Linked DNA regions of Homo sapiens: region 2 is linked to region 1. Evidence: promoter capture Hi-C in 16 types of primary human blood cells and fetal thymus (Javierre and others, 2016). All regions are on one chromosome and are shown on one strand. Each heading gives the region's core, a stretch centred on a gene start or on the middle of the fragment in contact. The rest is flanking DNA. Distances are from core to core; before and after follow the strand shown.

The links. Contacts are between HindIII fragments. The CHiCAGO score rates a contact against its expected background, and 5 or more counts as called.
Region 2: a fragment that was not itself captured here is called in contact with the fragment with the promoter of LINC01592 in region 1 in 1 of 17 cell types (endothelial precursors); the score reaches 6.1 in endothelial precursors.

What each region holds. Positions count from the first base shown.
Region 1 is chr8:69,101,052-69,108,520 of GRCh38, forward strand. It overlaps LINC01592 (long intergenic non-protein coding RNA 1592), which reads right to left and starts at 3,139. Exons shown (of 5, transcript NR_039986.1): 1 at 2,947-3,139. The HindIII fragment of the contact is 15,425 bases long and covers 1-7,469 here.
Region 2 is chr8:69,556,325-69,563,793 of GRCh38, forward strand. SULF1 (sulfatase 1) reads left to right here. Exons shown (of 23, transcript NM_001128205.2): 4 at 7,215-7,287. Among named protein-coding and RNA genes, the nearest start is that of SULF1, 67 kb to the left of the region's middle. The HindIII fragment of the contact is 1,274 bases long and covers 2,330-3,603 here.

The DNA.
Region 1 (7,469 bases), core at 1,889-4,388:
TTTCCTTCACCTCACTTCTTCTTATATATTGTACACCAGTGTCCATTGTTCCTGCCCCAGGTCCCTGAGGTGCCTGAAGACTGTGTTTTTATCATAAAACAATTTGCAAATTATAGTAAGAATTGAAATATTTCTTTCATGGTATGGTCTAACTTTATTCGCAACAAAAACAAGTAATATATTTATGGAATAACCACTGAGCTGGAGATGGCAGAAGACTTTCAGGTATAAATAACGATTTGTGTGCCTATAAATTTACAAAATAGCACAGGAAATAGTTTCTTAGTAAAATTTTTGGTCCTTTTGTTCCAGAATTACACATAATAAGGTCTACATTAAAATGTGGAGAATACATGAAGTTCTCTTATTAGCATTGAATTGATTTCACTAATTTTTTATATATGTATATATGTAAAAAAAAATCTACAATGGGACTTTTGATTCCAGCCAAGATGGAGTAGACTTCACTCCTCCCAGGTTCTCTCTTGAAAAATTATAAAAACTCCAGATATACTACAACAAACAAGTATAGAAAGACATTGAAAAGTGAAAAGACAATAGACTGCCTAGGGACCTCAGGACTTGAGGAGCAACACAGTGGTGAGTCACCTCAGTTTTCCTAATTGCCTCCTATATATCCTAGACAGAACACTGCAGAAGCCTTCAACTGCAAACTGCCAACAGACACTCAAAACAACACACAAGATTTCTAGAGTATTCTATTCCCTCTCGCCAAGGCGTAAGGAAAAGGTGACCTATCAACAGAAAACATTTTTGGCCCAACTACATCCAACCATTAACAGAAAATCCTTCTTCAATCCCCATGGTTTCAGTGGAAATGAGCAAGGAAGTAATCTTCCACTTTACCCCTCCACCCTGTGAAAACAAGCAGTGATGCACCCTTTCCTCCACTGGGTGATACCACTCTTTCTATGTAGGGACCTGAACCTCTGCCCCCACTCAACATGAAGACTGGAAAACGTGTTGCAAGTCAGGACTAGTTAACGTTCCTGGCGTCAGCAGACTCAGGAGGGAGCTGAACACCTGTGTGTATCCAGCAGCAAGAAGACTGAATGAAGAGGTACAGTACCATACTACTCCACTTTCCCCCACCATGGTGTCAGCAGGGGATGGTGGGAAGCTGAGCCTTCATCTTCATCAGGTATCAATAAGGCAGAACGAAGTGGTGGGAGGCAGGATCAGTTAGCACTCCACTTACCACTGGTGTGATCAGAAACTAGTGGTGAGCTAAATTTCTAACCCACTTCTGCAGCAAAAAAGGGGTAAAGCTAAGTATAAATATCCATCTGACTCTCACATTCACACTACACATCAACAGGGCAATTGCTTCAAAAAAAAAAAAAAAGGATAAATAGAATCCTTAGTTTCATAATCTAATACCCAAAATGTCCAGCATACAGTAAGAAACTCACAGGAAAATTACAACTTGAGTGAGAAAAGACAACAGACAGCAGCACCCAAGTGAATCAGATGTTGGAAATAAGTGATAAGGATTTTAAAGCAGTAATTACAAAAATATTTCATGTGGCAATGACAAATTCCCCTGACACAAATTTAAGAAACAAAAAGTCTGAGTGGACAAACAACAGTTATACAAAAAGAACCAAATGGAAATTATAGAACTAAAAAATATAACAATAATACAACCTGATGATTGGGTTTAATCACAGAATGGAGATGACAGATCGAATCAATGAATTTGAAAACAGATCTATAGAATTTTTCCACTCTTAACTATACAGAGAAAATAGACTGAGAAAAAATTAACAGAATATCAAGAACCTGTGAACAATACCAAAAGATCTAGCATGCATATTATCAAAGGCCCAGAAGGAGATTTAAAAAAAGAACATTATTGAAAAAGTATTCCATGAAATGATGACTGAAAAGTTCTCAAATTTGCAGAGTAGAGTTTTGCAGTCCTTGGGTTTTCAGAAATTAAGTATAGTCTACTTACTAAGGGCTTTGAAGGCTCTTGGTCTTGTTTAACCTAAATTTCTAGAAGATAAGCAGGGTAAGTAGGGAGATTGGTAGGAGGAAGATGGCGAGGATGGTAAGCCGGGGGAGAAGTAGTATGGGCTTTGTGTTTTCAAACTGTCACTTTATTTTTACATTATTGGATATGGGGAATAATGTGACTGAAGTAGAATAGATTAGGCATATATAAAAGTATAGGTTGAGTAGGGTTATAATATCTATAATAGTGGGAATGACAAGGTTGTTATTTTTTTGTAAATTCTTGAATGATAATTCATTTAGGTAGAAAACTGGTTAATGCTGGTAGGCACTTCAGGATTTACACTTCAGGAAATTTAGCTAACTTCAAATAGGACAAATTTAGACAAATATGCCAAGATACGTCACAATTAAATTTTCAAAATGTAAAAACAAAGAAAAACCTTGAAAGCACCCAGAGAGAAACAACATGTTACCTATTACAGAACAAAAGACAACAGATTTCTCATCTAAAACCATGGAGGCCAAAAGGAAGGGGTACAATATCTTTCAAGTACAAAAAGAGAAACATTGTCAGCTAAGACTTCTACATCAGGAGAAAATATCCTTCAGGAATGAGGAAAAATCAAAATATTCTAAGAAGAAAAACCAAGGTAATGTATTTCTAATACGCCTACCCTAAAATAGCTAATGTAAGTTCTTTGAACAGGCAGTAATGGCTATTGTGGACCATTGCTTCTTTTTGCCCTGTAGAAAGATTCATTGGAAGAATAATATACATACATTTTGTATTGAACAATGATGTTATTTGGAAATCCTGGCTAAGATTTTTTTGGGATCAATGCTGAACATTTCAAAGGATGTTACAACAAGCTGGAAAGTATGAGTTGTGGGTCTAGTCCTGGTTTCCCACTGCTGGTCTGTTACAGAAATGTGGTCCTACTGTGGAGCCTCAGCATAAATACTCACAGAAGGAGATCCAAAGACAGATGACAGAGCCTCTCAGTATTTGACTCCATCCTTGAGTTGATATGGCACCAGGTAGAAATCTTCTCTAATTTCCCCCAACAAGAGAAGGAATATTACTTAGAAATATATCTTGGAGTATTCTTCTAGACAGAACGTCAGTGATCTGAGATCTTCTGAAGCTCAGTCCAGGACTATTCTCCTGGCAAGAAAAGGAGAGTTTGATCCATCAATTTTGTTCAAAAAGTTCAGAGGTGAGGGTGGAGGAATAGTAGTTTGGGGTGTGGAGGAATAGTAGTTTGGGGTGTGGAGGTGTGATTAAGGGGAAAAAATAACTTTTCCATTATTCTTCTGTCTGAATATTCAAAGTCTGGAACACATCAAAAGCAGTTAAAAATAAAATGGATTGTTATACTTATCTGTCATCCCAATGCAGTTTCCATGTTATTTAAAATAGCAAGTTATCTTTGGGTGACATTAGCCTTAGTGATGTGAATTGCAGTTTTCTTTATGATGTCAGGGCTTAACTATTTAGTAAGTAGGAGGAAAACTATCTAACAGAATGCACCTTAATAGGAAGAAAATCAGTTGAACTGAATAAACTAACGTTTACATTCCCTCCGTCTCTATTTTTCATCTAATATCACCCCCATGCTATTAGAGCCTCAGCCAAAAATTGGGTTTTATTCTTTCTGGCCCCATGATTTCCTTTCAGTAAGAAATGTTCAGACTAAGACACATTAATAAGTGCAAATAAATTTAGCTAGCATTTGCTTGGCTGATTCTCAAAGAGGATCAAGAAAGGAAATGGAGAACACCGATGATAAACTATTCAACAGAGCATTTTGAAATTGGCAATGTTGCAAGAACAGTATTTTATGGTGGTTCAGATACATAATATGTTTTATAGAATGTTCAGAAAAAAATAAAATGATCAAACCGCACCCTTTTAGGTATAGATGGAATGGCAAGGGATTTATTTGATACACAGTAAATATTTGAAAATGATTTCAATTTATTTCAGGAAGAGTGCAGATAAGATTTGTTGAGGAAAAGATCTTTATAAGGCACATTAAAATATTTGGAGTTAGATTAGATTTCATTTGTGATGTAAGAAAAAAATACATAATATCTTTTTCATATTTAAAGGAGTTATTTAATATCAGTAGGTCGACGGCTGCTCTAGTGTCTCACAATTGTCAAACTTGTATTATGCATGGGGATTACAAGTGCTTTATTAAATGACTTGTTAATATTATCCTCCCTCAAAAAGGATTTGTAGTAAGAAACGACTGCCACTACAAGTGAACTAGAAGACACGAGTCCTGAAATTCTGCTACTCATTAGTACGACGAGGCTTGCATTAGAATAAGCACACTAAGAAAAAGTAACAAATTCCAATTTCATATTTCTCATCCATGTGGAAAAAATAAAATATAAGCCTGAATTTCAAATGTGTTTGGTGGAGGGATGTTTTAGAATGACCAGTATTTTTATTTGTTTTATTTTTAATTTGATATGGCTTTTCCACTTTGTTTTGTTCTGTTTAAATTCCTTAGGTCTTCTGCCACTCACAATACTAGAGTCCTAAATAAGCTAACTGACATGATTTCCAGGTTGCCCAAATAGGGAAATAGTGAGATGCTTAAATAATTCGATTAGTGTAGTTTATTTTCCATATCAAGTAACTTAGGTCAAGTTAAGGAAATTTCACAAGCATGAACTACTAGAATTTTAGAGGAAGTGAATGCAGTGAACCACCAAATCTCAAGGGTCTGTTTTAACCTCAGAAGTAATTCTATCTTGATAATTAATCAGTGACATAGTTAAGAATTCAAAAGAAAATAGCCTATTTTGCCAAGAGTGTCTGTAGATGTTTAAATTCAAATAAACAGAAATAGCAAATGACCCAAAGACAGTAGTCTTCAAGAGCTTCTTTGGAATTCACAAAAATATTTCCTTTAAACAGTGCTGTATTTAGACTAGCCATTTCACCTTGGAATATGAGTTAATGAAGAAATGATGAGTTTAATTGTTCTCCTGGTTTAGCTGAGTCCTTTGGATTTTATGAACTAGAAAGAAACAATGTGACGTGGTACTGGACCCAAAGGTTTACTCTTTTCTCTGTTTAATGTGACTCAGCCTGTTTTCAGGAAGAGTAATCTTGGATATGGAAAGCCTATCTTCAGGTCAGGTATTGTGAGCTACTCGCTTCATGACTTTACAAGTCTTTTAACATATTCTGTTTTCTTTTTATAACATTAAAGTGAACTAAATTATTACCATCCCAGTTATACACATTGGTCAAACATGGCCCAGCAGTGCCATATGGTCATTTTTCACACTTGCAAATGAAAAACTCATTGTTAATAGATCAATATCATGACCAAATCAATGGCCTTGAGGTCTTAGAAGAAAATTACAGGCTATGGAGTGGGTTGCCCTTGGGGTTTGAATAATGTACTCTATGGAATTACTAATTGTGTGGGGAATATTTGCTGAATGAAGTAATGAATGAACAGCTCTTGTCCACAGAAATAAATCCACAGAAGTAAGTCCACAGAAGATGCCAGAGTTGCAAGGAAAGCTACTCACCTGAAGGTCAATGTCTTTTTTACACAAGATGCCAATTAGAAGTGAACTTGTGTTTCCAATATTAGAGAACTTTATATAAGTTATGGCATTATCTCCTTAAGATCCTATTAACATAGATATTAGAGATAATAGACTTAGTTTATTTCTTACTCATGCTTACTTTTTTAATATTGCAAACAGGAAAAAGTGAATGAGGTATTACAAGGGATCAACCATTCCAATGCCTGGGTCTTGATAACTTAGATTGTATGTTCAAGTGGATTCTTAAAGGTCATACAAGAGCTACATAGGATTTCTTATTTCTCTTAAAACAACCTTTTTTTCATAGAAAATTGTTAGCTTTAAATACTATCCATACACCAGTCAACACTTGTGTGCAAAGAATCCAAAATGAATGTAATTATGCTCTGATTTTATCATTCTTACTAATGGAATACTAAGGAAATCTGTTAAGTAGGAAGATTTAGTAAAAGATTTCACAGTATGAGAGCTACAGTAAAGCTGACTTTTTAAATGTGAAGAAACTATTCCAGTAGATGACTAAAAATAAGCAGAAAAGTCTTAGTACACTCTATTCTGCCAGCTCTGCAAAATAGCATACTATTCTGGCTTGGAGTCTAAAAAAAAAACTGGGTTATTCTTAAAGAACATAAACTTTGGAAAAGTTGAAATTCAATATAATTTAGTTCAAAATACTTAAATACATACTATATTTATATTTATGTACATCTAGTTTCATAGTTTGGTCCTATTGCTTATTGTCTGTGACAGCAATCAGTTTGGCAAAGCCTTGAGAACATTTTTGCTAATAACTTACTTTTTTCCTCTCTCTGTATCACAAGATTTCATTATGTCACAAACCAGGTTAAGTTCAGAGTACATGGTGTAGAAATCAATTATCTGATACCCTTTAGTGAGCAATATTTTGAGCAGCCCATATTTCCTATTATATAGCCTTAGTATCTGAGATTATGGTAGTTAGCATCCTGGAAACATCACCATGCCCTATGAACAGAAACCCTTGACTGCAAAGAATCCCTGCTTTCTATCTCTTGTGACTTGGCTTTTTACTTTTCCATGTGCCTCTGTTCCATGAGCTCTTTCTTTACCAATCTCCATTTGAAACCGTCTGTACCACCATGGTTGTCCTCTACTGGTATGTTGAACTGACTAGCCATCTTGGTTGTGAACTGAACAAATTTTTTTCAACTAGGTTAGAATTTTTTTTCCAAATTTAATTTTAAGTTTAGGGGGTACATGTGCAGGTTTGTTGCATGGGTAAATTGTGTGTCACACTGGTTTGATGTATAGATTATTTTGTAGCCCAGGTAATGAGCATAGTACTGAATAGGTAATTTCTCACTCCTTACTCTCCTCCCACCCTCCACCCTTAAGTAGGCCCTGGTGTCTATTGTTCCTTTCTTTGTGTCCATGTGTACTCAATGTTTAGCTCCCATTTACAAGTGAGAACACGTGGTATTTGGCTTTCTGTTCCTGGGTTAATTCACGTAGGATAATGGCCTCCAGCTCCATTCATGTTGTTTCAAAGGACATGATTTCATTCTTTTTTATAGCTGCATAATATTCCATGGTGTATATGTACCACATTTTCTTTATGCAGTCCACCATTGATTGGCATCTAGGTTGATTCCATGTCTTTGCTATTGTGAATAGTGCTACAATTAACATACATGTGCATGCATTTTTATGGTAGAACGATTTATATTCCTTTGGGTATATACCCAGTAATGGAATTGCTAGGTCGAATGGTAGTTCCGTTTTAAGTTCCTTGAGAAATCTCCAAACTGCTTTTCATAGTGGCTGAACTAATTTACATTCCAAGGAGCAGCATAAGAGCATTTCCTTTTCTCTGCAACCTCACTAGCATCTGCTATTTTTTGACTTTTTAATATTAGCCATTCTGACTGGTG
Region 2 (7,469 bases), core at 1,717-4,216, 460 kb after region 1:
GTGAACTGGGTCACTTCCAGGTTGAAGCCCTGAAAAGCTCCTGCACAATTCTTGAGTTTATTCTTCCCTTGCTTCCTGGTCTAGTTATTGCAGCAACAGGACAACACTGCCCCCATCAGTGTGCATCCATGCATGGCTGGGCAGAGCAGAGTTCTCTGCCATTCTATGTGTGACTTGCAGTATGAGTGACAAATATGCTTTTATCATATTTGGAATTTCTTTGTTATTGCAACAAACTACTTCTGCTGACTAATGCAATATCTCAAGGTACTTCAGTACAAATAAGCCATAGATATATAAAACCAAAGGCAAATTTAATGAAATTTAATGTAATAAACCTTATATTTTAAGACCTAGCTAAGATGCCCAAGACCACATTTTAGTTCTTTTTAACAATATCGCTGCCCTTCCCCCAAACCCACTTTATGTTTTTTCATCAACTTTTATTTTAAGTCCAGGGGTACATGTGCAGGATGTGTAGGTTTGTTACACAGGTAAACGTGTGTCATGGTGGCTTGCTGCACATGTCATCCCATTATCTAGGTATTAAGCCCAGCATCCATTAGCTATTCTTCCTGATGCTGTCCCTCCCCCAACCCTAAAGAACCCCCAACAGGCCCCAGCGTGTGCTGTTCCCCCACATGGGTCCATGTGTTCTCATCATTCACCTCCCACTTATAAGTGAGAACATGTGCTGTTTGGTTTTCTGTTCCTACGTTAGTTTGCTGAGGATAATGGCTTCCAAGTTCATCCATGTCCCTGCAAAGGACATGATCTTGTTCCTTTTTATCGCTGCATAGTATTTCATGCAAATCCACTTTACCTGAAGTTTCCAATGCCTCTTCTTTTGGAAATCCAGTTGTCTCTTCGTTCTCATTCTCTTGGATCTCACTGCCACCATTGAAACCATTGATCATTTGGACCACAATTGGTCACCAATGACCATTATTAGTCCCTTTAGACACTTTGTAACATATGCTTCAGGAATACTGAGTTCTTCTGGTGGTTTTCATAATATCTAGATCACTTTGTTTTCCTTTGTCTTGTTAATTTCATCTGAAAGAAGCTGGACAAATTTTAATTTGGACTTTATGCATTCTCTAAAATGCCCTTCGGAAGCTTGTTTTTATATGGTTTTAGTACCTGCTTTTATGAGGCAGAGTCTCAAAGGCACATTTCTCACTTCATCCTTCTCACTCTTCAACCCTCACTTCATCCTTCCCACTCTTCAACTCCATCTATTTTCTTCCTCCCTGAGAAGACAGAGAGAAAACCTAGAAAACTTAAGTTTATTTATTTCTATGTTTTGTAATGCAACAGATTATTGAAAAAATTCAATATATATATGAATTAAGCCAAAAAATAAAATCTGTCCCTCTCCCTCACCATACACCAGGGATAACCAGCACTCACCACTGTGTGAATAGATGAGCTTTGAAGATTCCTTCCAATTTCAAGATTCACAGTGTTGTGTGGCAGGAGGAGAGGAGAAAGGAAGATCTCATCATTTAGCCAAATATTTCCCCACAGGTGTTCCAGGTCATAGGCATACACTTTTCAGCTGTCATTGTTTGTTGGAAGAGGATTTATTATTGGAGGAGAATAAAAGTGTTACTACACCAGGAGGGGATGATTGTCTATCTTCTTTGCTTGGAGTTGTAGTAAATTAGACCAGGAAACAGGCTTTCTGGAGATTAACAGTAGGTGAACTTGCCAGCTGTGGGGTTGTTAAAAGAAGAAATTAGCTTTTTCGTGGATTCATGTATCTTATAAAGAAGATAGCACATCCTGAAGCCTTACTCTAAAGAAAAGAAGTAATCTCTGGGAGACTCAAAAGCCAAAATTAAGGGGAAAGGGCCATGTTAACTGATCCTAAGAAATGTATGTAGACAGCAATGTAGGATGGGAGGATGAGATGTGGGTACCAGCTTCTTGCTGGTGTAATTCTACTTCGCTTGCCTCTGACAATAATCTAAGCGTGTTCTGGCTAAATTCAGCTTCGCATAACTGCATAATCTCCCCTGCCCCTGCTGTTTCAACTGCTTATGGTGTCCCTTTTTTCTCTGGCCTAACTATAAAGTGCCATTGCTTTGTACTAGAAATAATTCTTCTGCCCCATCCAAGAGAGGTTTATTTCTGTGGCGAGTGGGTTGTTCTGACCCTGTCCCTTGCATACTTCAGATGCATGGGCATTCATTTGTAAAATTTTGTGTTATCCTTGGGTAATAAAAAACACAGAATTTTATCACTCATCAACAACTTTTATCTGAGACCAGGCATTTAGAACTGAGGACAGTTTCAAGGCTTTAAGGAAAAAAAGTAAATGAGAAGCTTGTGACTAGGGCCAGACCTACAGCCTTAAATGTGAGAGTCTGGGCTTAACTATAGAACAAGGTACACTCTAAGCCAGCAATTCTCAAACCCTTTGGTTGTCTCAGTATCCCTTTATATAATTAAAATTTATTGAAGACCCTTGCCCCAACAGTTTTTATGTGGATTATAATTATTAATACTTACAAGTGAAAACTGAGAAAATTTTCAAATATTTGATTCTTTTGAAAATAATAAATCTATTATATGTTAACCTAAATGATATATTTTATTAAAAAAAACTATACTTTCCAAACAAAAAAATTGTGAATAAATTATGAATTCATTTTACATTTTTGCAAATCTCTTTAATGTTTATCTGAAAAGAAGGAAGTCGAATTCTTATTTCTGCTTCTACATTCAGTCTGTTGAAATACACTGTTCTGGCTGAAGTACAGTAATAAAATCCAGAATCACATGAATAAGTAGTTGGAAAGTAGAAGCATTTTAATAGCTTTTTCAGATACTTATAGATATTTTCTGATACTACAACAAAACTTGGCAAGTGATAATTCATTAAAGGTTAGTTGTATTAAGAAATCTGAAGCCATATCAATGAACTTTTCATTCTGTTACAATAGAATCCATTGGTCATCTTGTACTTCAAATGCATTTTTTATTCATGTAAGATTTTGTAGCACTGTGATTATTTGGGAAATTTGGTTCACTGAACTATGCGAATATTCTAAATGTTGACTCATTTCATTTTACAATATCAAAAAATAACATTTGTTAACATCACTACCATTGTCATCAGAAAAAGTTTTACTTATTGGGAGTCTGCCAAGTGTAGTATACAAGTTTTCCAGAATTCTAATTTTAACTTGAAAGGTAGATTTCTATCATTGGTAACAAACACTGTCAATTGTTTCCCTTGAAATGATAGGCTCATTTCATTCATTATTTGAGAAAATGTCTGCCAAATATCCAAGTCTAAAAAATTCTTTTAAGTAAAAGTAGTGTTTCATTTTTTGTTTGTTTGTTTGTTTAAAGCCACTTTAGCTTGCAGCTCAGCCACCTTCATGCTTTTCCTCAAGACAGCCATCATACTCCCCCAGCCACCAAGGGACTTTGTGTGAACCTCTTATCTCAGAAAACACAACAGTGAAAAGAAAAGATGTGTACTCAAGGTCAAGGTTTAATAAAATTAGTGGTTTTACTGCTTCATCTTAAGTGAAGCTGGGTTTTTTTTGTTGTTGTTTTTGTTTGTTTGTTTGTTTTTACTATATGTGAAGCTTCTATCATTCATGCTAAGACAAAAGCGGAAAGCGGTTCTACCTACTATTGCTTTTATGCCATCTGTAGAAATGTCAGCGCAGTGAAGAAAGCAAATAATGTGTCAGTATTCTTATCAAAATAGTTCTGACCTCATGAACCTCTCAAAAGGGTCACAGGGTCCTCCAAACGTCCCAAACTATACTTTGGACATTGCTGCTGTGGACAAAAGCAAGGTGCTTTTGATATATTGGCCACCATCCCCTCTAGAGACCTAGCACCAAGCTGCCCAGCCAAAGTGGGGATTGGGGAAGACAGAGGTCCCCTTAAACCTTTGGGAGCAACAGGGCTTCAGTTTAGATTGGGGTATTGTGGAACAAACATATGTGACCTAAACTTCCTATCCAGTTGGCTGGACATCCTGCCAGTCTTTTTTTTTTTTCTTTTACATGTGACTTGAAACATTTAATGCCACTTTTATAGTTTGGCTTGACGGCCCTAAGCCACCCTAAACAAAGTCTTGTAAACTTTCCACACCAATTGACCATAACTACAACTGCTGTTTTCATTTTATGGCTTGGAGTAAAAGCAACTTATATCCTGGTCTTGACTGGTGAAGAATAGAACACTGTTCTTCAAACTCACTCTGTATGTATAAGAAAAACCTTTCTGCATTTCTTTCATTTTCTACTCTTTCTCAAGATAAATTGTTAGTCTCTAAGGACTCTTGTTGTCCCCCACAAAGTATCCAATTCAAACATTGCATCCTTGTCTCTTCTGTCAAGCTCCGCATTTTGTCTGTCAGGACTTTTTTCCCTTCTTTACTTCTTTTCCTTCTAGAGCTGGAAACCAGGCAGTTAAGAGGATGACAGGCTTTAAAAGGTCATTTTTGAATAAAGAATTGTCTGTGTGCAGTGTTTCTAGAGTGGCATGTTTTGTGTGTTTTAGTGAAGGAAGGTGAGATAGAGAGAGGACTCGTGCTGGCCAGACTAGTCAAAAAATTCAATTTTCTTGACCACTTAATGTATATCGTTGTAGGTATGAATTCCCTGAATTGAATGTTGGTGGTGGTGGGAAGAAGCTGACCAAAAGTTCCAAAGTTCTAGTGAGACAGGAGGAATAAACATTAAAGATCTGTTGCCCAGCAAGGTGACCACAGTTAATAACAATGAATTAATTGTATGTTTCAAAAATGCTAACAGAATAGATTCTTAAATGTTATCACTACAAAAAAAATGATAAGCATGTGAGGAGATAGACATGTTAATTAGCTTGATATAATCATTCCACAATGTACACATATATCAAAACATCAAATTGAACCCTGTAAATATATACAATTATCATTTGTCAATAAAAATAAAAATTTTAATTAAAAAAATAAGATACACTGTGGCAGAAAAAAATGTAGATCTTTTCTGCACCTTTCATTCACCAGAAAGGAAGTTCATTTCATAGGAAAAAACCACTCTCTCTTTTCCATATTAGGAAATGATTTTTGATGTAGTTTATACAAAGGTATCATTAAAGCTAATTTGCTTTTTCCTAAAGGAAGAAGTAAAGTAAATAAGATAAAGAAAAGAATAACTAGCAATGTTGATTGGGTTCCAGCAAAGGTTATCAGCATCTGAATTGTCAAGAACTTTCAGCTTCTTGTATTGCTGATTATTTAAACTCAAATGCCACTGTTTGTCTAACGCAGTGAGCCTGTAACTGTTCCTACCTGGTTGCTACCATCAGCAGGGGTTCATTTACAGTATAGTGGATGCACAAAGGCCCTCTTCACAAACTCTCCCTTCACACACCTCTGCAGGCCTTGAGAGGTGAGCAAAGTTTTTGCTACTTAAGGAACCAACCTCTAAGAAATTTCTGTATTTAACTATTTAGCCTGACCCATGCTTTGTGAGAACAAGCCATTGTTTATCATTTTATTACTTTAGTTTTCCTGTCCCTTCATGCCTGTATCAGGTTTCTCACGATTTAAAACAAATGCACAGAAACCAAACAGTCAGTGCAGAATAATTGCAGGCTTTCAGTGTTCAGCATGTACAGCAATCACTGTGGAATCACCCTGCGTTATTAAGAAGAAAGCACCAAATCTTACATTAGTGACTTCTACAGGGCTGCGTTATCAATTGGAGCTGTCTTGTTTGTTGCAGATAATGTAGTCAGGACTGCCTGGCTGCAGACACTAGAGTTTTGTTTAAAAACCGATTTCTTCTTGTCTCTTTCTCTCTCTTGCAGTATAATTACAGGCTGCAGAGTGAAAAGCATTAGAACTGTTTACAAAACAGCTCATAAAGTTTAAAATAATGGGGATACGTGTGTGTGTTTGTGTAAAACAAAATAATGTGTATGGTAGGGGTAAACAATATCCAGTCTTTCTTCTTTCACTACCCCCTGTCACCTTCCAGAATTAAGGGCATGAAGTTGAGAGATGGAGCCCTTTCCTCCTGCTATGCGATGCTTACACTTAATTAGTTATGCCTACTTATCCAATGCCAGTTTATTGTTGCAGATCAAAATACAGATTCTCAGGTGTATGGGGACTGAGTGGCTGATGAAACAGACTGCTATCTAATTAATTTTAGGGCAGCCTAAATTCCCATAAAGATGTTCCCTCATGACATATGAGAGGAAGATTTTATTTTTTTAATGAGCCCTTTGCTATCTTTCCAAGAGAAAAGCTTTCAGCAGGTTAGTGTTCCAAAGTGAGAGGGGCATTTTTCCAACCCTTTCAAAAGCCTCCTTCTGTGCAGCTTTGCAAAGATTTTGCAGCTCGCCCTTCTGGATTTTATTTATTTATTTTTTAATGCGGAAGGGTAGCCGCTGACTCCAGCCTCGGGGCCAATCAATCATTTTGCTTTGCAGGTTTAAGATCTGTGACAAAGCGAAACCCCTGTGCTATCTGTGCCTTACCAGTCTCACCAACAATAAGCCTGGTGACTGACAATCGAGAGGGGGCTCTGTCCACGTAGGTGCCGGCACAAGCTGAGGACATGAGTGGGACAGAGGAACCAGCCTTGCACGGAGGAAGCACCTTTTCCTTCTGGTGATTGATTGATGGGGGACAGTGAGGAGGTTTTCAGAGACTGGAAAAAATTGTCCCAGTCACTTACTATGAAGTCTTTGTCAGCAGAAAAGACTCTCCGGGGTAGAGAATGATATAATGCAGATGACAAATGACAGGTGTGTGTTTCGTTCTGCTTGCTAGGTACTCAGTATCACACGCAGGTGAGTCAGCGCTCCCCAACATGCCCCTTGCGCCATCTGCTCCCCACATGCAAACACTCGTTCCCAACGCTCTGTGGTTTCCCTGGCACTGCTGGCTCTTCCTAATCGATCGTCAGCTCTGTTGGGGATGTGTAAAGTACTGTCAGAGTGTGAGCAGGGTGATACCTTACCACCCTTTTATGGAGCTGATTATGAAATGAAGATAGCATTTGAATCATTTGTTAGCAGTTCTGAAAGTTGTTTCCTTCTGTTCCTCCCTTTTGGAGCACAGAAGAAAAAATATATGTAATATATACACATATAATATGCTGTTGCAAGAGACTACTTCAGATCGAAAATCTGTTTTTAAAATCATTGACTGATATTTCCTTTGTATTTTTTTCTCCCCCTTCCAGGACCCTATCTGCAGATGTTCTGAATACCTCTGAGAATAGAGATTGATTATTCAACCAGGATACCTAATTCAAGGTATTAGCTCTCGTCAGAAAGCTTTTACATTTGAGCTCTGTGTTGGAAATTCTATTTTGGCAATGAATTGAAATAGGAAAAGTTGGAATGAGAATAAAGGACAAAAGTGAATTTGCAAAATAATCAAGTGCTTAAAAAACTACCCAGCACTTGTGAGGGTTTGCTATTTCTGACTCATGTGC